Regions from separate parts of the Homo sapiens genome. Here region 1 is linked to region 2. The links are contacts of gene promoters, found by promoter capture Hi-C in blood cells and fetal thymus (Javierre and others, 2016). All regions are on one chromosome and are shown on one strand. The core of a region is centred on a gene start or on the middle of the fragment in contact, and the rest is flanking DNA. Distances in the headings are between cores, read along the strand shown. Region 1 has its middle 6.4 kb from the start of LINC01353. Region 2 holds the start of OPTC (opticin).

Region 1 (5,272 bases), core at 1,735-4,234, 210 kb before region 2:
GTTTCCTGTGTCTGTCTTTGTCTCTATGTGTGTGTGTACAAATACATATAGGTATATATATTCTGTCTTTCTCTGTTGCTGTCTCTCCCCCGACCAATCTGATCTGAAGGATCACAGAGCTGGATGGGACAAGGGTCACCATCTCATCCATTCACAGCCTTTGACCAAGATGGTCTGTGAACCATTGGATGTGGGTTAGGTTTTGAAACAAACTTCCCCTTCCCGCCCCACTTGGGCATCAGTTCATGCTCAGCTTGGGTTTAACAGTCTCCAGATTTCCTCTTTGAGCCAAATTCTCACCCTTCCTGCTGCTGTTTGGACACTTGCTTTGGTGTCCTACAGGGAATAATGATAAGGCAGAGGTCACAGTCCTGGCCCCCACCCAGCCTTGCCTGCTGCGCAGTGAAACTGGTGTTTGCCGGGGCCGGTCTTGGCCAGGAGAGAGGAGGAGGGGTGGAGGCAGCTGGGGAGTGTGAGCAAGATGCCGCGGGGGCTCGGGGGAGACTGCAGCCAAGTGCTGCGTCTGAGGATATTTATAGACAGACACACAGAGAGACATGCACGCAGGGACAGAGTACTGTTTGTTTCCTGGAAACATGGACTGTTCTCTCAGTCCTACCAGATTTCCCAGGGAGCATCATACTGAAATAGGGAAAACTGTGTCTGCTGCCTGGTGTCCGCCCTCCACATAAGGAGAGATCTGATTCGCTCCACACCCCCTTGGTAACTGCAACGACTGCCCCTAGCCTGGGGAAGCCCTTTCCAGGCGTTCCTGACTGCCCCGCTCACTTCTCTGTCTCATCTCGCCTCCCAGGCCTCCTTGCGCTACTCCCACAGCAAAACACTGCACCAGTGCTTGCCCTTCTTGGGGGCTTCCTGGCCTTTGCACACACAGCTCCGTCTGCCAGGAATGCTTTTCCATCCATTCCTATTCTTCTGGCAAAGCCCTACTCATCATCTGCCCACACGTCACCTCCTCTGAGGGGTCTTTTCTCACCTCTCCTCTGAGAGCTTAGGACTTTGCATGGTTATGTCGCTGTTGTTATTTCTATTTACCTCTGTCTCCGCCTCCAAACCATAAATTCCTCAAAGTCAAGGACTTTCTCTTACTCATCTGTGCGTCCTCAACATGTAGACCAGTGCCTGAAGCAGAGCTGATGAGCAATGGAGAATTGTTGAATGAATGGATGAGATTTGTACAGTATAGCTGCTAAGAGTTCAAGGTCTGTGTTCAGTGGAAGATTTGGTTTAAATACCAGCTCTATGTGAACTTAACCTGGAATTAGAAAACAAAACAAAACAAAAAACAAAAATAAATAAATAAATGCCAGAGCTCTGCCTCTTGCTAGCTATGTGATTTTTCCAGTCACCTGGCCTCTCTAAGCGATTCCACGTCTATAAAGTGGCCTATAACAATAGAACCTTGCAAAGGCCGGGCACAGTGGCTCACGCCTGGAATCCCAGCACTTCGGGAGGCCAAGGCCGGCAGATCATGAGGTCAGGAGATCGAGACCATCCTGGCTAACACGGTGAATCCCCGTCTCTACTAAAAATACAAAAAATTAGCCGGTCGTGGTGGCGGCACCTGTAGTCCCAGCTACTCGGGAGGTTGAGGCAGAAGAATGGCGTGAACCTGGGAGGCGGAGGTTGCAGTAAGCCGAGATTGTGTCACTGTACTCCAGCCTGGGCAACAGAGCAGAGCGAGACTCCGTCTCAAAAAAAAAAAAAAAAAAAAAATAGAACCTTGCTTACGTGATTAACGTAAAATTTTAACGACATTACATATTCCCATGGTGCCTGGCACACATGGGTTTTTCTCACAACCCACATTTTGTCAGCAAACCCTGTAGATTCCTCTTTTAAAATGTCCAGTCTCTTCTTACCTTCCAACTGCCAACAACCCAATCCAAACCACCACCATTTCTCACTGACACCCAGCCCTCACTTATTTCCAGCACAGCTTTCAGAAGCAGTCTCTTAAAAATATGTCACATCATCTGACTCCTCTGCCAAAATTCTCCTTGGCCTCTCCTTCTCACTAGAGGAAAAGCCCAGGTCCTCATCATTCTCATCATGGCCTACGAGGCCCTTTAGGATGGTGTCGCCCACCACCACTGACTCCACCTCTTCACTTTCTCCCCTGCTCTCCTGGCTCCAGCTGCACGCCACTCTGCCCAGTGCCCTTCTACGTGCCATTTCCTCAGCTTGGAATTCTATTCCTTCAGAATCCTCATGCCTCCCTCAAAGGCTGCCTTCTCCATGAGGCCCTCCCTGGCTGTCCAATTTAAACTTTCAATGATATGCTCGCTGTTGGCACATTCTTTTTTTTTTTTTTTTTTTTTTTGAGATGGCGTCTTGCTCCTGTTGCCCAGGCTGGAGTGCAGTGGTGGGAACTCAGCTCACTGCAGCCTCCACCTCCCAGGTTCAACGATTCCCCTGAGTTGAGTAGTCCCTGAGTAGCTTGGACTACAGGCATGTGCCATCATGCCCAGGTAATTTTTGTATTTTTAGTAGAGACGGGGTTTCATCATGTTGGTCAGTCTTGTCTTGAACACCTGACCTCAAGCAATCCACCTGCCTTGGCCTTCCAAAGTGCTTCTTACAGGCATGAGCCATTGCGCCTGGCCTCACTATTGGTACCTTCTATCCCACTTTGCTGCTGGATTATTTCACGTTAGCCTTTATGATAGTATTTATCATTAGTAAATATCATTAATATTTATCAATAGTAAATATCATTACTATTTTAGGTATTTCCTTATTTACCGTCTGTCTTCCCTGGTAGAATATAAGCTTCAAGGGAGCAGGGATTTTTGCCTTTTGTGTTTGTTGCTGTATCCCTAGCATGTAGAACAGTCTGGCATGAATGAGTACTCAGTAAATACTTTGTTGAATAAGTAGATCAGATCTGGGAAGTTTTGCTAGAGTACATTTCCCTCTGTTTACAAGAACTTGGTGCCCCGAGACTGTGAAGATGAGAGCTTATACTGATGTAAAATACGAAAATGTAGCATCCCAGAGATCTGGGTGGGGCTCGGCCACTCCTCCTTGCCCCTGGGCAGCCAGAACTGACTCAGGAGGCAGAACCCCAAAGCATGCTTCTGCCTCAGACTGGATTTTCCCCTCCTTCCAGCCCAGCCCAGCTGCCTCCAGTAGAGGGCTTGGCTGGGAACTTCAAGCTTGTCCTTTTCTCTGGAGAGGATGGGCATTGGGCCTCCACCCTTGGAAGAAGGAGTGGCAGGTGAAGATGACCCACAGCTAAATGGCTGCTAGCTGCCTTTTGTCCAGTTTTCTTGGGATTCCCACAGGGCCTTCCTAGGGAAAAAAATCAATGCCATCCTCCTTGGCCTTGGTTTTCCAAGAAAGCAATGCTCTTCGCTGGGCATGGTAGCTCACGCCTGTAATCCCAGCATGTTGGGAGGCTAAGGCAGGAGAGAATCACTTGAGCCCAGGAGTTCGAGACTAGACAGGGAATCATAGGGAGATCCCGTCTCTACACATAATAAAATAAAATAAAATAAAAAATTAGTGGGGCATGGGGTGGCACGTTCCTGTAGTCCTCACTACTCAGGAAGCATCCGTCTTGTTTCTCCAGATAAACTGAACATTTGCTGACAGCACAGACCCTGTCTTATTCACCTTCATTTGCCAGTACTTTAGAGCATGGTAGCTGCTCATTAAGTTTTTGTGAAATAATTATGAAATTATTCCTATTTCATAATTAATAGTGAAATAAATATTTCACTAGGAGTGAAATAATTATGAAATCACCGTTACCGCCCCCACCCCCAACCTGCCAAAGTCTTCCTAGAAAAGCATCCTGCTGTTTTTCACTGTAACTCCCATCAGGCAGAAAGCCCCAGAACTCGGGGCAGGGAAATGTTCACCCAACCCAATGAGGCCTTCCTGGACCCTCCTTGCCCCTCTCCCACTCCCAGTTCTCTAGCCCCATGTCTAGGAACCTCTCTGGGTCCTCTGGCACTGGTGGTGGGTCCTCTGTCCTGCTCCCAATCCCCTCCCTCTGTCCTAAGAACACTCTTTCCAGGCTCCTAGCTGTGAGTGACACATCAGATACCGCAGCACAGGGTGCTCCTGGATGGAGACAAGGTAGGAGGGTGAGGGATGGTGACAGGATATAAGAAATTCAGAGAGCAGGAGAAATTGGAGAAGGCAGCAAGCCCACTGCCCTCCCTCCCAGCTTGGAGGCTAGATCTTTAGACAAGGTCTGTAAATAACATCAGAGTGGCCTCTGGTTCTGTGTTTGAACTGTGACGTTCTACTCCCCAAATAGAACTCGACTATCTGATCCAGGCATTCCCTGGGCCTGGGGGAGCAGCGAGAACCTGTCTCTCCCTCTCAGGGTACTCTAGAGCCAGGACCCAGGACCCTGCCCCCATGACCCAGCTCACATATCTACGAATCCGTGAGGTTGTACTGAAGGTATGGTTTGTGTGACCTTTGCAACACACTCATGTCTCTGGAGCACCCGAGGTTAGAGTTTTCAACAGTTCATAAGAGAGACAAGTAGTGCTGTGTTTTCTCCCTGAAAATAAGCAGAGATTCTGATGCCCAGGGGGAACACCAGAGTGGGCTCAAAGGTCACTTACTGTGGTCAAGCTCCACAGAAATTCAACCACTCACTCCCCTGTGTTTTGGGTCTCCCAGGAGGGCCTTGGGAGTATGTGCAGTGGGCTGCCCCTATGGGAGGTGGCTGAGAATAGGGAAGGTGGAGAACACAGCCAGGGCCATGCAAGCGTGCAGTGAGGCGTTCTGTCCTGTTACAGTGTGTCTCCCTGCCACCCTCTGTTTCTCCCACCCTCTCGCCCTTTCTGCTCCAATAATCCCTCCTCCCTCCAGAGAGCAGAGGGGTGACTGACGGGTCTGCCATCTGCTGCCTTCCCTCATGCTCCAGGTACCCTGCACAGGAGTAATCTAAACGACTTGGGTAACCGAGATAAGATCCTTGCTGCCATTAAACATTGACAGGCCCCAGTGTGATGAGAGTGCTCAGTTGCAGAGAAACTCCTGGACTAGTCCATGGGGAGGCAGGGAGACCACAGCAGCTGGGCCATTAAAAATGAATGGAAACCAACCCTTCTAAGGGGCTGTGCCTCTTAAAGTGACAGTTCTCCTGTTGGCTGGGGGAGAAGCCAGGAGGATTCAGAAAAGGCCAGGAGGCCCAGGCCCTACCCAGTATTCAAAGTCGTAGCTATTTGTGCCCTTCACACTCTGTTAGTTGGGCGGAAAGAGCGTGGGTTCGGAATCAGGCAGA
Region 2 (5,748 bases), core at 99-2,598:
ATCTATACCACAAGGACTTGGACTAGATCTTTAGGGGGCCTCACAGCTGGAATTCAGTATCTGGTTGGTGGAAAGGAGTAGGGAACAAGGAGAGTCACTGAGAAACCTGGGTGGGCGCCAGGGCACAGGCTGGCAGAAGCTGGGGAAGACTCCTTAGCCACCCCACCTCTGCCTTCAGCAAGGACTTGCTCGGCAGCCTGCTCGAGGCACCAAGGAAAGGGGAGTGTTTCCAGATGAATGCCGTTGGCCCTCTGTATCTGTGGGTTCCACATCCGTGGATTCAACCAACCACAGATTGAAAATATTCAGAAAAAAAAAAAATTCACAACGTTCCAAAAAGGAAAACTTGAATTTGCTGTGTGCCAGTACTATGTGGAATCCATGTGAATGGAGTGAGGTGTAAGCATTGTGTTTGGTGTTATAGGTAATCTAGAGATGATTTGAAGTACACAGGAGGATGTGCGTAGGTTATGTGCAAATTCACCATTTTATATAAAAGACCTCAGCATATGTGGATTTGGTATCCACTGGACGTGCAGAACCAATCCCCCATGGTTACTGAGGGACGACTGTACATCTCTGAGGGTGCGGGAGAGGATACTTCCCAGGCCCCCGAGACCCTACACAATGTCTACTGGTGTTTATGATCCTTTCTAGGGCCCACCTCCCAATTTCCATTTGGTTTCCTCCTAGCAGATTTAGAGAATTTCCCGTATCCTCATGATCATCATCTGTGAACTTGAAGTTGGCTTTCAAATCCGATCTCATCCCCCATACACCTTCTCTTTGAACTACCTAGGCCTGCAGCTCCTGTCTCTGGTGATTTTATTCAATTATGGTCTCTGTGCTGGCGCTCTAGGTGAGGGTGAAGTGCCTCATTTCCACCTATTTTTATCTTTGGATTCTGGCTATGAAGCTGAAGCCTTGTCACTCTCTGGCTGGAGAAAGAAGCTGCAAAGACAAGCTCTATCTCTCCATATCCCCCGACTCCAGCCTTCTCTGAGGACTCAGAATCTGAGGGATGGGGCCCCTTCCTTGCAGGGGATGGCACTCCCTGTTCCTCAAAGATGTGGCCTTATCAGGAGAGTGGACAAGGAAAAGAAAGAAGGAGCTGACAGAGTAAGAGGAGAGAGAGCAGGAGCTGGAGGTGGGGGGTGAAGCGGAAGGTGGGGGGAGAATTCTCTTTTGTCAAATACAGGAATGGGGCAGGGGACCCCCTGAGGAAAGAGGAGGGGAAACAGCTGGACATCAGAAGGAATGAGAAGTCTGATTGGTCGCAGGCCTGGCCAACTCCTTGCCCTCCCCCGGGCACCACTGTCTAACCCAAGCCCCAGTTCAGACAGCCTCCACCAGAGTCCCCACCTTTCTGGAAGCTGCAGGGCTCTCCATCCAGGATCCAGAAGCATTGAAGGGGTAAGGCTCAAGGTTGAGGCCTCTGGCCATCGGTGCGCAAATGAGGGCAAAGTGTTTGGCTGGGGCAGGGGATTGGGAAGGGAAAATGAAGAGAGTTTAGGCCTCTGGCCAAAGAAGTTGGACAAGACTTTTGGGTGGGCACTAAACTCTCTTAGAAAAATTTTTTTTGAGATTATGTAATTCGTTTGGGGTGAGGTATGGGAGGTAAGGTGAAGAAACACCTCTTGCTACTGCTAGAGGCTTGCCCCCTTGCCCAGCTAAAATTAAGAAAGGGTGGGGAGGTTAACTGGGCATGGTAACACACGCCTGTAGTCCCAGCTACTTGGGAGGCTGAGGCAGGAGGACTGCCTGAGCCCAGGAGGTTAAGGCTTCAGTGAGCTGAGATCATGCCATAACACTCCAGGCTGGGCAACAGAGTGACACCGTCTTAAAAATAGAAAATAAAATAAAAATTAAAAGATAAAAAAAATTTTAAAAGAAAGAAAGAGGGAGAGTCTACTAGAAACTTGTGCAGCTAGCTTTGGGGAGGGCTGTGTTAAGCCTACACTGGGTATGACTGTTGTATACACTTATGCCTGGATACAAAACCACACCACATGCATTTCCTGACCCGTCTATACATATACGAACTACATGAACATTTGTACTCACATGCATATCACATACATACGCAGGCATCTGTGTGCACACACACACAAATATACACAGGTATCTAAGGAAATTTCCAGATGCGTACACACTCATGCAATCACACACAAAGAACTCTTTTATCTGTAATAATCTGTTTCTAAAAAGCTGCATTTAGAAGTATATTTCATAAACTAACATTCTTTTTTACATTGTATGTTTCATTGTAAGTCCATGTCTCCTAAAGAGACTAGGTGCTCCTAGGAAGGGCTGTGCCTCATTCATTCTGTACCCACAGAGACAAGTCCTGTGCCTGGAACTCAATAGACACCCATAAATGTTTGTTGAGCAAATGCATGAATGGATGATCTTTATAAAAAACCACAAGAGTCAACTGGGCGCGGTGGCTCACACCTGTAATTCCAGCACTTTGGGAAGCCAGGGTGGGTGGATCACCTAAGGTCAGGAGTTCGACACCAGCCTGGCCAATATGGTGAAACCCCTTCTCTACTAAAAATACAAAAATTAGCCAGGCATGGTGGGTGCCTGTAATCCCAGCTACTCAGGAGGCTGAGGCAGGAGATTCGCTTGAACCCAGAAGGCGGAGGTTGCAGTGAGCCAAGATCGCACCACTGCACTCCAGCCCGGGAAACAAGAATGAAACTTCGTCTCAAAAAAACAAACAAACAAAAAGACCCCATAAGATTATTTGATGTTGACATTCTCTAAATCGAGCTTAGTGACTAGCAGTCATGTTCTGAGCATGGGGTTGTTTAAGAGAGGACATCTGTGTGCATGCACCAGTGTGTGCCTCGTTTGTAAACAAGGGGACTCTTGTGAATGTGTCTGTGTTGAGATGTGTCTGCACATGCCTCTGTGAGTGAATATCAGTGTTTGGGTGAGCGTGTAAAAACACTCAAGTGGGGCGGTGGAGGGAGGGGGCTGCTAGGAGATACCCCCCAAGACATAGTCCCAGCTGGTAGGGAATTTGTGCATGTGATGAGAGCACTGAGTCTGCAAGTGTGGGGGTGGGAAGTGGAGTAAATCTGCGAGCCATTCCCACAACACTCTGGAGAGCCTGTCCCTCAGATCGCTGCCCTTCCTCGTGCCCACTTGCCAGGACCAGCCGCTGAAGGGATTCTCAGTCCCATCTGACTCCCCATGAGGCTCCTGGCTTTCCTGAGTCTGCTGGCCTTGGTGCTGCAGGAGACAGGGACAGCTTCTCTCCCAAGGAAGGAGAGGAAGAGGAGAGAGGAGCAGATGCCCAGGGAAGGCGATTCCTTTGAAGTTCTGCCTCTGCGGAATGATGTCCTGAACCCAGACAACTATGGTGAAGTCATTGACCTGAGCAACTATGAGGAGCTCACAGATTATGGGGACCAACTCCCCGAGGTGAGGGACACAGCAGACCAACTACATTCCCTGCATGACACTGGGAGTCAGAGGCCAGGGCCCTCCCATCTGCCCCAAAGTGCGGGTGTCTCCAGCCTCCACCTCTTTCTCTGTGAGGTGGAAATTCTTATCCCTCCATAGGGACTTGTCACTTAGATGATACTAAGAAACAGGACACAAACCTGGGACTTCTCCTTCTTCAAAACTCATACTTGCCTCCCCCTGCCAAAGCTATGTCTCACTGGGGGAGGGGTTCGCAATGTCCTCATCATATTCTCTAGGAAATAAAAGTGCCACATCCCCCATCTCTTTTCTGAAACTGTCCTCCAGTCTGAAGTTCTTTCCCAGGTCCTCTTGGCCTTCACTGCAGCAGCGTGGGGTGCAAGCCCAGAAGCCCCTACTCAATTGTGCGTGAGCCTGGTCGGTGTGGAGCAGGGGAAGAGTGCCGGCCTGGGAAATCGGGAGAGCAGGTTTCGTCTCTGCCTTGACCACCTGCTGGCTCTTTGATCCTCATCCCTCTCCTCTCTGGGCCCCAGTTTCTTCATCCATAGGATGGACATGCTGGACCTGATGCTCTGTCAGGTCCCCTTTTTGCACAGTCTTTCTGCTATCCTTCCCTCCTCCTCCTCCACAGTGACTCTTTGCTGGTTTGAAATCCATCACTGAGGTTCCCAGAGTCCAAAGTTAAGTCCCTTTTGTGCAAAAGCTGGGCTACTGTGTACTCTGTGCTACATCTCCAGGTTAAGGTGACTAGCCTCGCTCCTGCAACCAGCATCAGTCCCGCCAAGAGCACTACGGCTCCAGGGACACCCTCGTCAAACCCCACGATGACCAGACCTACTACAGCAGGGCTGCTACTGAGTTCCCAGCCCAACCATGGTAAGTGCACAGTCACATGGTCGCAATATCCCTAGGTCATAGGCCAAGCAGCTATGACCCAGCACCAGGGGGTACCAAAGTGGAACGTGGTTGGGGTTGGGGCATGGAGGGTCAGGGCTACCCTTACTAGCAGGGAGAGAAGGGGAAATAGCCACAGTAAGAACAGGAAAAAAGAAATCAAAGACTGGCACTGGCTGTCCCTAATACTTTTGCCTGAATGTACAAGTTGAGTAAGAAGCAAAGAAATGCAAGAACTCCCTTATGCCCTAGCAAAGCCACCCTGCCTTAATTAATAGCATGACGGGGGAAGCAGGTTGAGTGGTAATTAGATTACAGACAATTAAAAGCCTGTAGAGAAGAATAACTAACTTTGTGGCTGTCACTTGGCATGGGAGCAAATGAAGCAGTCACACTGCTTTTCAGCTTCAAAGTCCCTCCTCAGCAGCTCTCTTTCCTTCCCTGATGCCCTCCTGGAGGCTGCGGCTGGCATCCCTGGCAGTGAGGCCTCAGCAATCTGCTGGAAATCAGAAGTGGGCAGAGGAGGGGTGAAGTTCATTCTGGACCTGCTTGCCCGCGGTTTCCCTGTTCTCTTCTCGGGATGTTTGCCTTGGGTGGACCTGGGGTATTGGGGCATTGGCAGGAAAACCATTCAGTCAGGAATCCATGACCTCTCAGAGCTACAGTCTCAGGCTTAAAGAGGCCATAAAGGGCCTCAGCTGAATCCACCATTCAAAGCCTCAGGATAAGAAAGATGCTGGGGCCCCTCTGCTCTACCCACTCCTCCTGGTCACTGCTGGCAGAGAAGAGCTCCTTAATCTGGGGGCTGTGTCACTGCTACCAGAGTTATTCCTTGAGTTGAGCTAAACTGGTCTCTCAGTAATCTCTGTGCCTTGTGATAGCAAGTGACAGAAACCACCTGCGCTATTCAGTTGTATGATCCAATAAAGTCTCCCCAACTACTTGGGGTGGCTGACCTGGCCTAACCTCATTACCCGTGGGTACAGAGACAGGGTCATGGACAGAACAGGAGAGGGCTGCTTCCCAAAGAAAAATTGGCATGCTGATGCCATAAGAAGGGGAAGTGGTTGCTGGGTAGGCACTGTACTCCACCTTGGTTCTATTGTGCTTCTTGGAGCCACACAGAACATGTCTAATTTCTCTTCCCCAAGGCAGATGGCAGAGCCAGCAACCACTGGCCATCCCACTTAATTCTGGCTTTACTTTTTGGGACCAGAGAGGAATCCTGTGGAAAAGAGACCAAGGGATTTCCTAGAAACACCCACATAGGCCCAGGAAAATGTACACAGAACCAGGGTCTGCTGAAAGTATAAATGGGCTTGGGCTGGGTAGTAACTGAGGATGGACCTGCCTCTCTGGGGTAGAGGACAGAGTGACAGGGGAGCAGACAACAGCACCGTGTACATGGTGCCCGTCAGT

Evidence for each region. The method cuts DNA at HindIII sites, captures the fragments that hold promoters and counts their contacts. A CHiCAGO score of 5 or more calls a contact.
Region 1: a fragment that was not itself captured here is called in contact with the fragment with the promoter of OPTC in region 2 in 1 of 17 cell types (M2 macrophages); the score reaches 5.0 in M2 macrophages.

Annotation. Positions count from the first base shown.
Region 1 is chr1:203,278,117-203,283,388 of GRCh38, forward strand. No RefSeq gene overlaps it. Among named protein-coding and RNA genes, the nearest start is that of LINC01353, 6.4 kb to the right of the region's middle. RefSeq lists a silencer at 5,179-5,228. The HindIII fragment of the contact is 386 bases long and covers 2,792-3,177 here.
Region 2 is chr1:203,492,805-203,498,552 of GRCh38, forward strand. OPTC (opticin) reads left to right here and starts at 1,349. Exons shown (of 8, transcript NM_014359.4): 1 at 1,349-1,413; 2 at 3,161-3,432; 3 at 4,173-4,311. The coding sequence starts at 3,202. RefSeq lists a silencer at 842-1,070. The HindIII fragment of the contact is 16,129 bases long and covers 1-5,748 here.